2 separate regions of the Homo sapiens genome follow, and region 2 is linked to region 1. Evidence: promoter capture Hi-C in human tissues and cell types (Jung and others, 2019). All regions are on one chromosome and are shown on one strand. The core of a region is centred on a gene start or on the middle of the fragment in contact, and the rest is flanking DNA. Distances in the headings are between cores, read along the strand shown.

What was found. The method cuts DNA at HindIII sites, captures the fragments that hold promoters and counts their contacts. A contact is called where the count stands out against the background at its distance.
Region 2: the fragment with the promoter of LDLR here is called in contact with the fragment with the promoter of ILF3 in region 1 in 1 of the 25 tissues and cell types used here (pancreas).

Annotation. Positions count from the first base shown.
Region 1 is chr19:10,652,477-10,656,960 of GRCh38, reverse strand. It overlaps ILF3 (interleukin enhancer binding factor 3), which reads right to left and starts at 2,615. Exons shown (of 20, transcript NM_017620.3): 1 at 2,474-2,615. ILF3-DT (ILF3 divergent transcript) reads left to right here and starts at 3,089. Exons shown (of 1, transcript NR_024333.1): 1 at 3,089-4,484. RefSeq lists silencers at 2,288-2,447, 2,528-2,767 and enhancers at 2,858-3,327, 3,568-3,737, 3,603-4,104, 4,105-4,484. The HindIII fragment of the contact is 14,146 bases long and covers 1-4,484 here.
Region 2 is chr19:11,087,779-11,091,987 of GRCh38, reverse strand. LDLR (low density lipoprotein receptor) reads right to left here and starts at 2,525. Exons shown (of 18, transcript NM_000527.5): 1 at 2,373-2,525. The coding sequence starts at 2,439. LDLR-AS1 (LDLR antisense RNA 1) reads left to right here and starts at 2,329. Exons shown (of 1, transcript NR_163945.1): 1 at 2,329-2,920. RefSeq lists enhancers at 1-488, 1,185-1,364, 1,082-1,675, 1,676-2,271 and a silencer at 1,435-1,694. The HindIII fragment of the contact is 22,999 bases long and covers 1-4,209 here.

The DNA.
Region 1 (4,484 bases), core at 1,366-3,865:
GTAGTGGAGCATGCCTGTAATTCCAGCTACTCGGGAGGCTGAGGCAGGAGAATCGCTTGAACTCGGGAGGTGGAGGTTGCGGTGAGCCGAGATCGCGCCATTGCACTCCAGCCTGGGCAACAAGAGCTAAACTCTAACTCAAAAAAAAAAAAAAAAAAAAAACCCTACAAAATCCTAGTTCCTGTAAAGGTTTAATAAAAGCAAGATTCAAATATTAAGGTCACAATTTCCTGGGCCATAAATGCTAATACTAAATGTTAACACTTACACATCTTTCAAAACTGCACAAGGTGAATTAACTTGCTGACAAAATGTAGCAGGATGACAAGTCCAAGAGGTATAAATAAGGGAAGGGATCACTCCTCTGGGGCCATGAAAGGTAATCAAAAGAAACCGAGAAAGGGTGACAGCAGTCCCTAAGAGAAGAGGCCCCAGCCCAAAGAAAACGACTAAAGGCTTTTCCAAGAATAGAAGACTTCTAACCCCCACATCTTGCTAAAGCCTAAAGGGTAATCTACTGTCTACCCAAAGGAAAGGGACTTACAGAAGGCTTCTTCCCCATCACTGACTCTACCTGTCCCCTACCTGGAGGCCTTAACCAGGGAGCACCGTCTGTATCTGTGTGATCAAAATATTAGCAGCTGTCCTTTGTCAACGTGGTATTTAACATGAAAATTTAGGAAAAAATAACAGACTTAGATTCCTCATGCTCAGGAATATGGGCCTTCAAGACCCTGAAAATACTAGAAGGAGCCAAAGGAATTTTTGCCTAGAGGCACCAAACAAGTTCAATCAGAAAAACCACAAACAATTAGGCACCTCTCAGCTCCAGGAAGACTCGGCTAAGCTCCAGGAAGATAGGGAGAGTGATAAATAGCGCCCAGTGGCGGCAAGGCCAAGCCTGGCAGTCATTGCTAGCCTCCAATCTGAACTAAAGAATATTCCAGACAACACTGGGGCCTGCAGACTCCATTCACAAATCCCAGGGACCAAGAGCCACCCACATAAGCAAGGGGCCCCAGCACCACGGAACAGGGAGAGGAGCACCTGCCAATGTCCTGCGGCCTCCTCCTGCTTTCCAGCTGTGAATGAGGCCCTGGTTCCCACACTTCATTCACAGTCTGGGCGGCTACTGTAACTACATCCCACGAGACCACACACAAAGCATCACGCACAAGGGACAGTGGCAGCACTCTGAGCAATCCATGGAGATTCCCATCCACAAATACCTGAGGAAAAGAGAGCTTAAAGTCCTAAATTTGAATCCTAACTTCGGATGGCACCTCGCGATTCCATGTGGACCACAAATATGCCATCACACCACTCATTTTAAAGAGAGCAAAATCTTGAAAAAGATTCAGCAGCAGTGAATTACCGGAGTCCAGAAAAAGAAACCACTGAAACCGACGCTTCGTTGCTGATCCATGTCACCTAAGCAGCAACTGGCAAACAATGTTGGAAATGTGGAGAAGAGATCCCTCATTCTCCTCAAATTTGGCCACTGAACTGGGGGAGGAGCATGCAGACCGCCGTACACCCCAAATAATTCATCCAGGCGGTGAATTAACTGGGGCAGAACCTCATGAGTAACCTCGAGAATCTCAATCGTTCAACTACTTGAGAAAATAAAGGTAGAAATGGGTTTTAAGCATCCACGTTTCGGGGCCCAGGCTTGCACCCAAGTAGATTGCCGGTCTAGAGAAGGCAAATACTAACAATCTGGAAAAACATTCAACAATGAAAACAAACTAACTAAAGAAAAAGCTGAAACCCTCTCAAGTTTTGACCCTGATCTGAGAGAGGCCTGGCTGACCAGAGATTTGGAAACCCGACGAACCCACAAAGGCTTCCTCAGCAATCCGCGTGGGAAGGGGCTTCCAAGGAGGGGGTCCGCCTCTCCGCGACCTGTGAGGACAAAGGAGGCGACTTTTCCCGCCTCGGGAACCTGGGACTCTCCTGGAATCGGGGGCGGGACCGGGACAAAGAGGAGGAGGGGGTAGGGAAGGAGTGAGGAAGGGGGGTCGCCCCGCCGCGGAACTCGGGACCCGAGGGGGTGTGTGCTCCAAGCACGTGCGCGCGTCCCCAGGACCCCCGCAACAGACAAAAGCCCAGCCGCGGGGAGGCGGCAGCCGGGGGCCCGGTGCGCGCGCACCCCCCCGCGCGTGGCGCCGCCGCCGGCCGAGGGGCCGCGTGCGGGGGGGAGCGGCTGCGCGCGCACCGAGTCCTCGCCGCCGCCGCAGCCGCCATTTTGTTTCCTCCGCACAATGGAAGAGAGTTAACGGCCGAGCGCGGGAGCGAGGCCGGCAAGGGAGGAACGGGCCAGGCGCCGGGATGAGGGAACCGGGCGGAGGCGGCGAGCGTGGGATCCCTCCAGCCTTGTCACCGCGAACCCTCAGTGGGGATCTCACTGAGGGCGGGCGGGGGGAGGGGCAGAGGCGGGAGCGGGCCCGGCCGCCGCCACATTGACGCTTACCTTGTCGGCGTCCCCTTCTTCGACCGCAGCCGCCGCCGCCGCCCTCCTGCCACAGCCCGCCGGGGTCTGCCCCCAAAAGCCACGCGGTGCGCGCCGGGCTGCTGGGTCCAACTGCAATGGCGAGAAGAGGAGGAGGAGGAGTCCGGACCGGGGGCGAGCGGGCGGGCGGGCAGGCGCGCGCCGGGGAGGTGCGGGAACACGTGACCGGCTGAAGCCCCGCCCCCTTTGACGCCGCGTTGCGCCTCGACGCAGGCCCAACCCAAATGGGAGGGAGGGGCGAAAAGAGATAAGGGGGGGGCTGAGGGGGTGGGCGTGAGTTGCACGTGGTGCAAGCGGGAGTGTTTGCGTGCGTAGTCACGTGACTTCGGCACCTTTCCCTCCGCTTTCGATAGGTTGCTCCATCATGTGACAATGGCGAATTTCGCGGTTTCCTTCGCCATCTGACAACTTTTGGCGCCTTCCCTTTGCCGTACTGGGAGTCCTCCATCACGTGACGAGGGCACGCTCTGGTTTTCGCTAAGGCGTTTTTTGAGCGGCCATTACCACGTGATGCAAGGCAAGCGTCAGAGGCGGAGCCTCCCTACGGCTGCGACATTTTGCGCCTGCGCGGCCGCCATCTTACGCCCGTCGCCCTGAGTACGTTAGCGGAAATGGCTCCGAGAGGCTTTGACGCATGTGTACCTTTTTAGTGGCGGTATCTCGGCCGGGGATTTTCGGGCTCCAGTGGAGGTGGCTATGCTCACCCCATCTCCCTTGAGAGGCACAGAAGGTTAGAGATGTGTGCGAGGAACGGCCAGGTCCAGCGTCTCCTCGTTGCTGCCCCTTGAGCCCGGGACCGGCGCCAATGCGCGCCCGGGTTCTTGGGTTCTTTCGTCCCGCAGACCTGCCTTGGTGTGGCGTCCCTGGGCCGTAGCTTCCGAAGGCTGCAGCCGACCTGGTCGGGGTCCTCTAGCCCGCCTTCCCCTTCCCCCATTGACAGATGGAGAAACTGAGGCCCAGGCCAAAAAATATCTCACTAGAGGGCTCACCGCCATTTCCTGGAAAAATTGGGGCTGGGACTCAACGGACGCTCGTCCAGCAGCAGCGCGGAGCTCCGAAGTAAAGGCGCCCGTGACCGAGTGCTTTGTCCTTACAAGCGTGGTGTTCTTGAATGCTTCCAGGCGCCTTATGAGGCCCCCGATGTACAATCTGTGCTTAACTAAACCCCACTGTCTTCCAGGGTCAGGTTGGCCATCCGCAGGCGTAGTTGCTAGGAAGGTTTGACAGATGTCCGCCTGTTGATTCAGACGTTCCCAGGATTTGGAGCAAGAAGAGCAAGGAAGGCCAGGCGCGGTGGCTCACGTTTGTAATCCCAGCACTTTGGGAGGCCGAGGCGGGCGGATCACGAGGTCAGGAGTTCGAGACCAGCCTGGCCAGCATGGTGAAACCCCGTCTCTACTAAAAATACAAAAGAAAATTAGCCGGGTGTGGTGGCACATGCCTGTAGTCCCACCTACTTGGGAGGCTGAGGCAGGAGAATTGTTTGACCTGGCAGGCGGAGGTTGCAGTGAGCCGAGATTGCGCCACTGCACTCCAGTCTGGGCGACAGAGCGAGACTCTGTCTCAGAAAAAAAAAAGAGCAAGGAGGTGTTGAAAATGGGTTTCCTGGCTGGGCGTGGTGGCTCACGCTTGTAATCCCAGCACTTTGGGAAGCTGAGGTGGGCGGATCACTTGAGGTCAGGAGTTTGAGACCAGCCTGGCCAACATGGTGAAACACCGTCTCCACTAAAAATAGAAAAATTAACTGGGTGTGGTGGAGGGCGCCTGTAATCCCAGCTAATCAGGAAGCTGAGACAGGAGGATCGCTTGAACCCAGGAGGCGGAGGTTGCAGTGAGCCGAGATTGCTCCATTGCACTCCAGCCTGGGCGATAGAGTGAGACTCAGCCTCAAAAAAAAAAAAAAAAAAAAATTCGCCAGGTGTGGTGGTGTGCGCCTATAATCCCAGCTACTCAGGAGGCAGAGGCACAAGAA
Region 2 (4,209 bases), core at 1,276-3,775, 440 kb before region 1:
CAGCCAACTCCCTTACTCAAATTTGGGTGAGTCATTGACACGTTTGGAGCTGCGCTCACCGCTGTTGCCTGATTTTGGTCTAAGTGAAGGCTTGCGGTTCAGATTCCAACAACTTCCCTTTGTAAAGGAAATGGACAAGAAACTCCCCCCTGGATATGCCTTGAAGCCAGCTACAGCGTGAGGTGGTGCAGCTAGAAAGTGCTAGAAACACACACCAGCTCTCAGAAGTCTGGAGGAAAACATCAGGGGTGTAGTCTCCTTGACAACAGAGGAAACATCACATTCTCAGCCATCCCGGGAGAGAGAAACTAAAGTGATGAACAAACAAGGCCTTGCCTAAGACTTCCTTAACATTTTCTCTTAAGGAAGAGGTTGATTGGTGAGTGAGATACACATTAATCCAGTGCCTCTCTTTCTTTTGTAAAACTGAGTGGCAGAATGTTTGCAATCATCATCATCCCCGGTGGGGCGCGGTGGCTCACTCCTGTAATCCCAACACTTTGGGAGGCTGAGGTAGGAGGATCGCTTGAGGCCAGGAGTTCAAGACCAGCCTGAGCAACCAAGCGAGACCTCATCTCTACAAAAAGTTAAAAAATAAATAAGTAAATAAAAATAAAAGAACAATCATCCGTATTTCATTACACCCTCCCTCCCTCTCTGGCCTCCCAGAGGAAACTGGTGTGTTAGTTACAGCGTGAATTTCAAGGCAGTTCAAAGCTCTCCATCCAGTCAAAGCCAACCCCCTTGCCAATTAAAAAAAAAGTTTCCTGCAATCCTTGTGTTCATCAGGCAATCCCAATCCTTTTCTAGGCTAGGCTGGTTCTCAGGAGGGAAAGGGCCATGTAGCTGTTGTCTAGGGCGAGGCTGTCTCTCTGCAACTAATTTAAAGCCACCTAAAAAGCTCTAACTCAGGATCATGCACTAACCAGCCTCTTGTGGAAATCTAAAATCTAATCCATTTCACCCAGAGGAAAAATCGCCGCTTGGACAGCTGAACCGAAGCCATTCACAGCCTCTGAAGAAGCGAGGCCACCCCAGGGGGTCGGTCCCGGGGGATAGCTGCCCCACCGTGGCTGAAGATCTCGGCTGCAGACCAAGGAGGGGCGGGGAGATTCTGAGGCAACGTTTCAACCTCGTAAGGAACCGAGGCCTTGAGGGTGGCCGGGGGCCCCTCTGTGAACTTGATCGGGGCTGGTGGGGCGAGGGCGCCCCCCAGGACAAGGTGGGGACGGAGGTGTCGCCACAGAGCACAGCGGAAACCGGGGACTTCGCCAGGAGGGCCCAGGATAACGGAGGGCGACTCGTGTATGTCGCGGAGGCGGCTCCGGGGACCCGGGACTTGTCGTCGCCTTTGTGACAGGAACCGCGGAGGAACGCCAGGCCTCCCCTGCATCCGCCTCGCCCCGGACAAGGTGAGGCTCAGACTTCCGCGCCAGCCCCGCCCCGCTCGTACACAAGCCCCGTCCTCCCGACGCCCGCCTCCGCCTCCACCGCCTCACATTGGACAAGGGGAGTGGCTCGAGGGTGGCCTGTTGGACTACACCCAATGGAATTCGGGGGGCGGGCCAAAGGGGCGGGGGCAGGGGCGGGAGGGGGTGGCCCCCGTCCCGGAGCACGCGGCGGAATCCCGGGACTGCACCCAACTCAGGATGGCAGTGGCGCCCTGGGGTCGCGCAAAGCGGATCGGGACCCCTGAGCCCGCGGTGACCTCCAGGCTGGACATCCGGGTCTCCAGTCGCCCTCGCCCCCAGAAGGACTTAAGGCGGGGGTGGGAGTGATCCCTTGTTTTAGGACTGGAGGTCCCCACACCCAGCTCCGAGTTAGAAGAGAGGGTCCCGGCCGGGCGCGGTGGCTGACGCCTGTAATCCCAGCACTTTTGGGCAGATCACCTGAGGTCGGGGTTCGAGACCAGCCTGGCCAAAATGGTGAAAACCCGTCTCTACTAAAAATACAAAAATTAGGCGGGCGTGGTGGTTGGGCGCCTGTAATCCCAGCTATTCGGGAGGCTGAGAGAGGAGACTCGCTTAAACCCGGGAGGCGGAGGTTGCAGTGAGCTGAGATCGTGCCACTGCACTCCATCCTGGGCGACAGAGCTAGACTCCGTCTCAAAGAAGATGCGGTCCCTCACCCTGTGGAGACTTGGGGGACAGCGGTGCCCCGTTTCCCTTAAATCCCTCAGACTCCTCCCGACCCTCGCGCTCCCCTCAGCGCCCCCCTCCAGCGCCCCCTCCAGCCGTTTGGGAAGGACCCCGTGCCATTACCCCACAAGTCTCCCAGGGATGGAGTGATTATTTGTACCCAAAAAAATAAATTCCCAAGGGCCCCCCGGGGGCTCCCTCTCAACCTATTCTGGCGCCTGGAGCAAGCCTTACCTGCAGTCCCCGCCGCGGCGAGGAGCAAGGCGACGGTCCAGCGCAATTTCCAGCCCCAGGGCCCCATGCTCGCAGCCTCTGCCAGGCAGTGTCCCGACCCGGATCACGACCTGCTGTGTCCTAGCTGGAAACCCTGGCTTCCCGCGATTGCACTCGGGGCCCACGTCATTTACAGCATTTCAATGTGAGGTTTCTAGCAGGGGGAGGAGTTTGCAGTGGGGTGATTTTCAAATGTCTTCACCTCACTGCAAGAGGAGGAGTTTCGAACGGCCGATGTGACATCGGCTTTTTAACCCGTGAAGCTCTGATTCCCACTCCAGTCCTTCGAAAGTGTCGCCAGGGCAGGCGACTTGATTTGTTGTATTTGGGTCTCCGGTGAAGAGCTGACGCCCCCTCAAAATTGGAAACGCATCTTCTGAAAGATCCTCCTGAAATTTCTCGATGTTTAACTGTTAACATTTTGCTGTTGTTGTCCACAGAAGGATAACAACAGCCTTTCAAGATCCTCCAATAGCCTAATGCCATTGTCCTCTCTGCCTCAAAAGGAAAACACTAAAAATGTTGGGAACTTCCGCCACTTTCTATATTTGCCTTTTCCTTTCTAGGAATTGTGTATAGATTTTTAGCTTCCTTTCGTTGTATATTGTTTTTACATTGTTATTCCAAATCACCTAATAGACACTGATCAATCAGGAATTTAAATAAAATCTTCACAAAAGTACAGCCAAAAAAATATTTTTTGTTTTGTGGGATCCCGCCTTTGGCTGAGTATAAACATCTGAAAAATCAATTGTACGGATACCTGGAGTCTGGACGTAAATATTGATTTCTCCCCTTAGGAGAAGGAGTTGAACAAACAGAAGGGCGGTTTCCTCTCCCTCAAAGCAAAATCAAAACAAAACAGGGCTTTCACAGTTGAACTTGAACCCCTAAGCCACAGAGAGCTGGTGGAGACCAACTTTTAGAATTGAGTCTCTTTGGGGACTCATGGGGTTGCCAGAGGCCTCTTGCCAAAAAGGCACATGTGAGAAACTTGCCTGAACCCCACACAGGGCTGGGCAGTCTTGGCGGTTCCCCCAGGAATAAGCTGGATTTCTCTGGGATTTTGCAAACTGACTTTGGCAGGCAGTGCTAACCTCTCAGCAGGATTTTAGGGAAACCTAGGAGACCAGGCAGAAAAGGGACAAATTGAACTCTCAGAAGGACAAAAAAAAAGATTAATCAGGGAAAATAATTTTTTAATTATTTTTATTATAATTTTTTAAATAATTATTTATTATTTATTTATCATTATTTCCAGCTGTCACTCAGGCTGGACTGCAGTGGCGTGATCACAGCTCTCTGCAGCGTCAACCCTGGGCTCAAGGAATCCTCCCACCTCAGCCTCCTGAATAGCTAGGACCACAGGAGTGCACCACCATGCCCAACTAATTTTTAATTTTTTTTTATAGATGGGGTCTCACTATGTTGCCCAGGCTGGTCCCAAACTCCTAGCTTCACTCAATCCTCTTCCTCTTGCATCATGATGCCTCTCAAATTGCTGGCTTTACAGGCATGAGCCACTGTGCCCAACCCAGAAGAAGAAATTGATGATAAGAATTTTTGGCAGTTAAGACTCAGTTTCAGAATTCGGCCTTGGACAGATAAATTAGCTTTCCCAACCTGTAAAGGGGCCATCAAAATGCTTGAACCTACTTGGCAGGCTCAGTGTCAAGGTCAAATTGAAATAATTAGCGGGCTGGGCATGGTGGCTCACGCCTGTAATCCCAGCACTTTGGGAGGCTGAGGCAGGTGGATCACGAGGTCAGGAGATCAAGACCATCCTGGATAACACAGT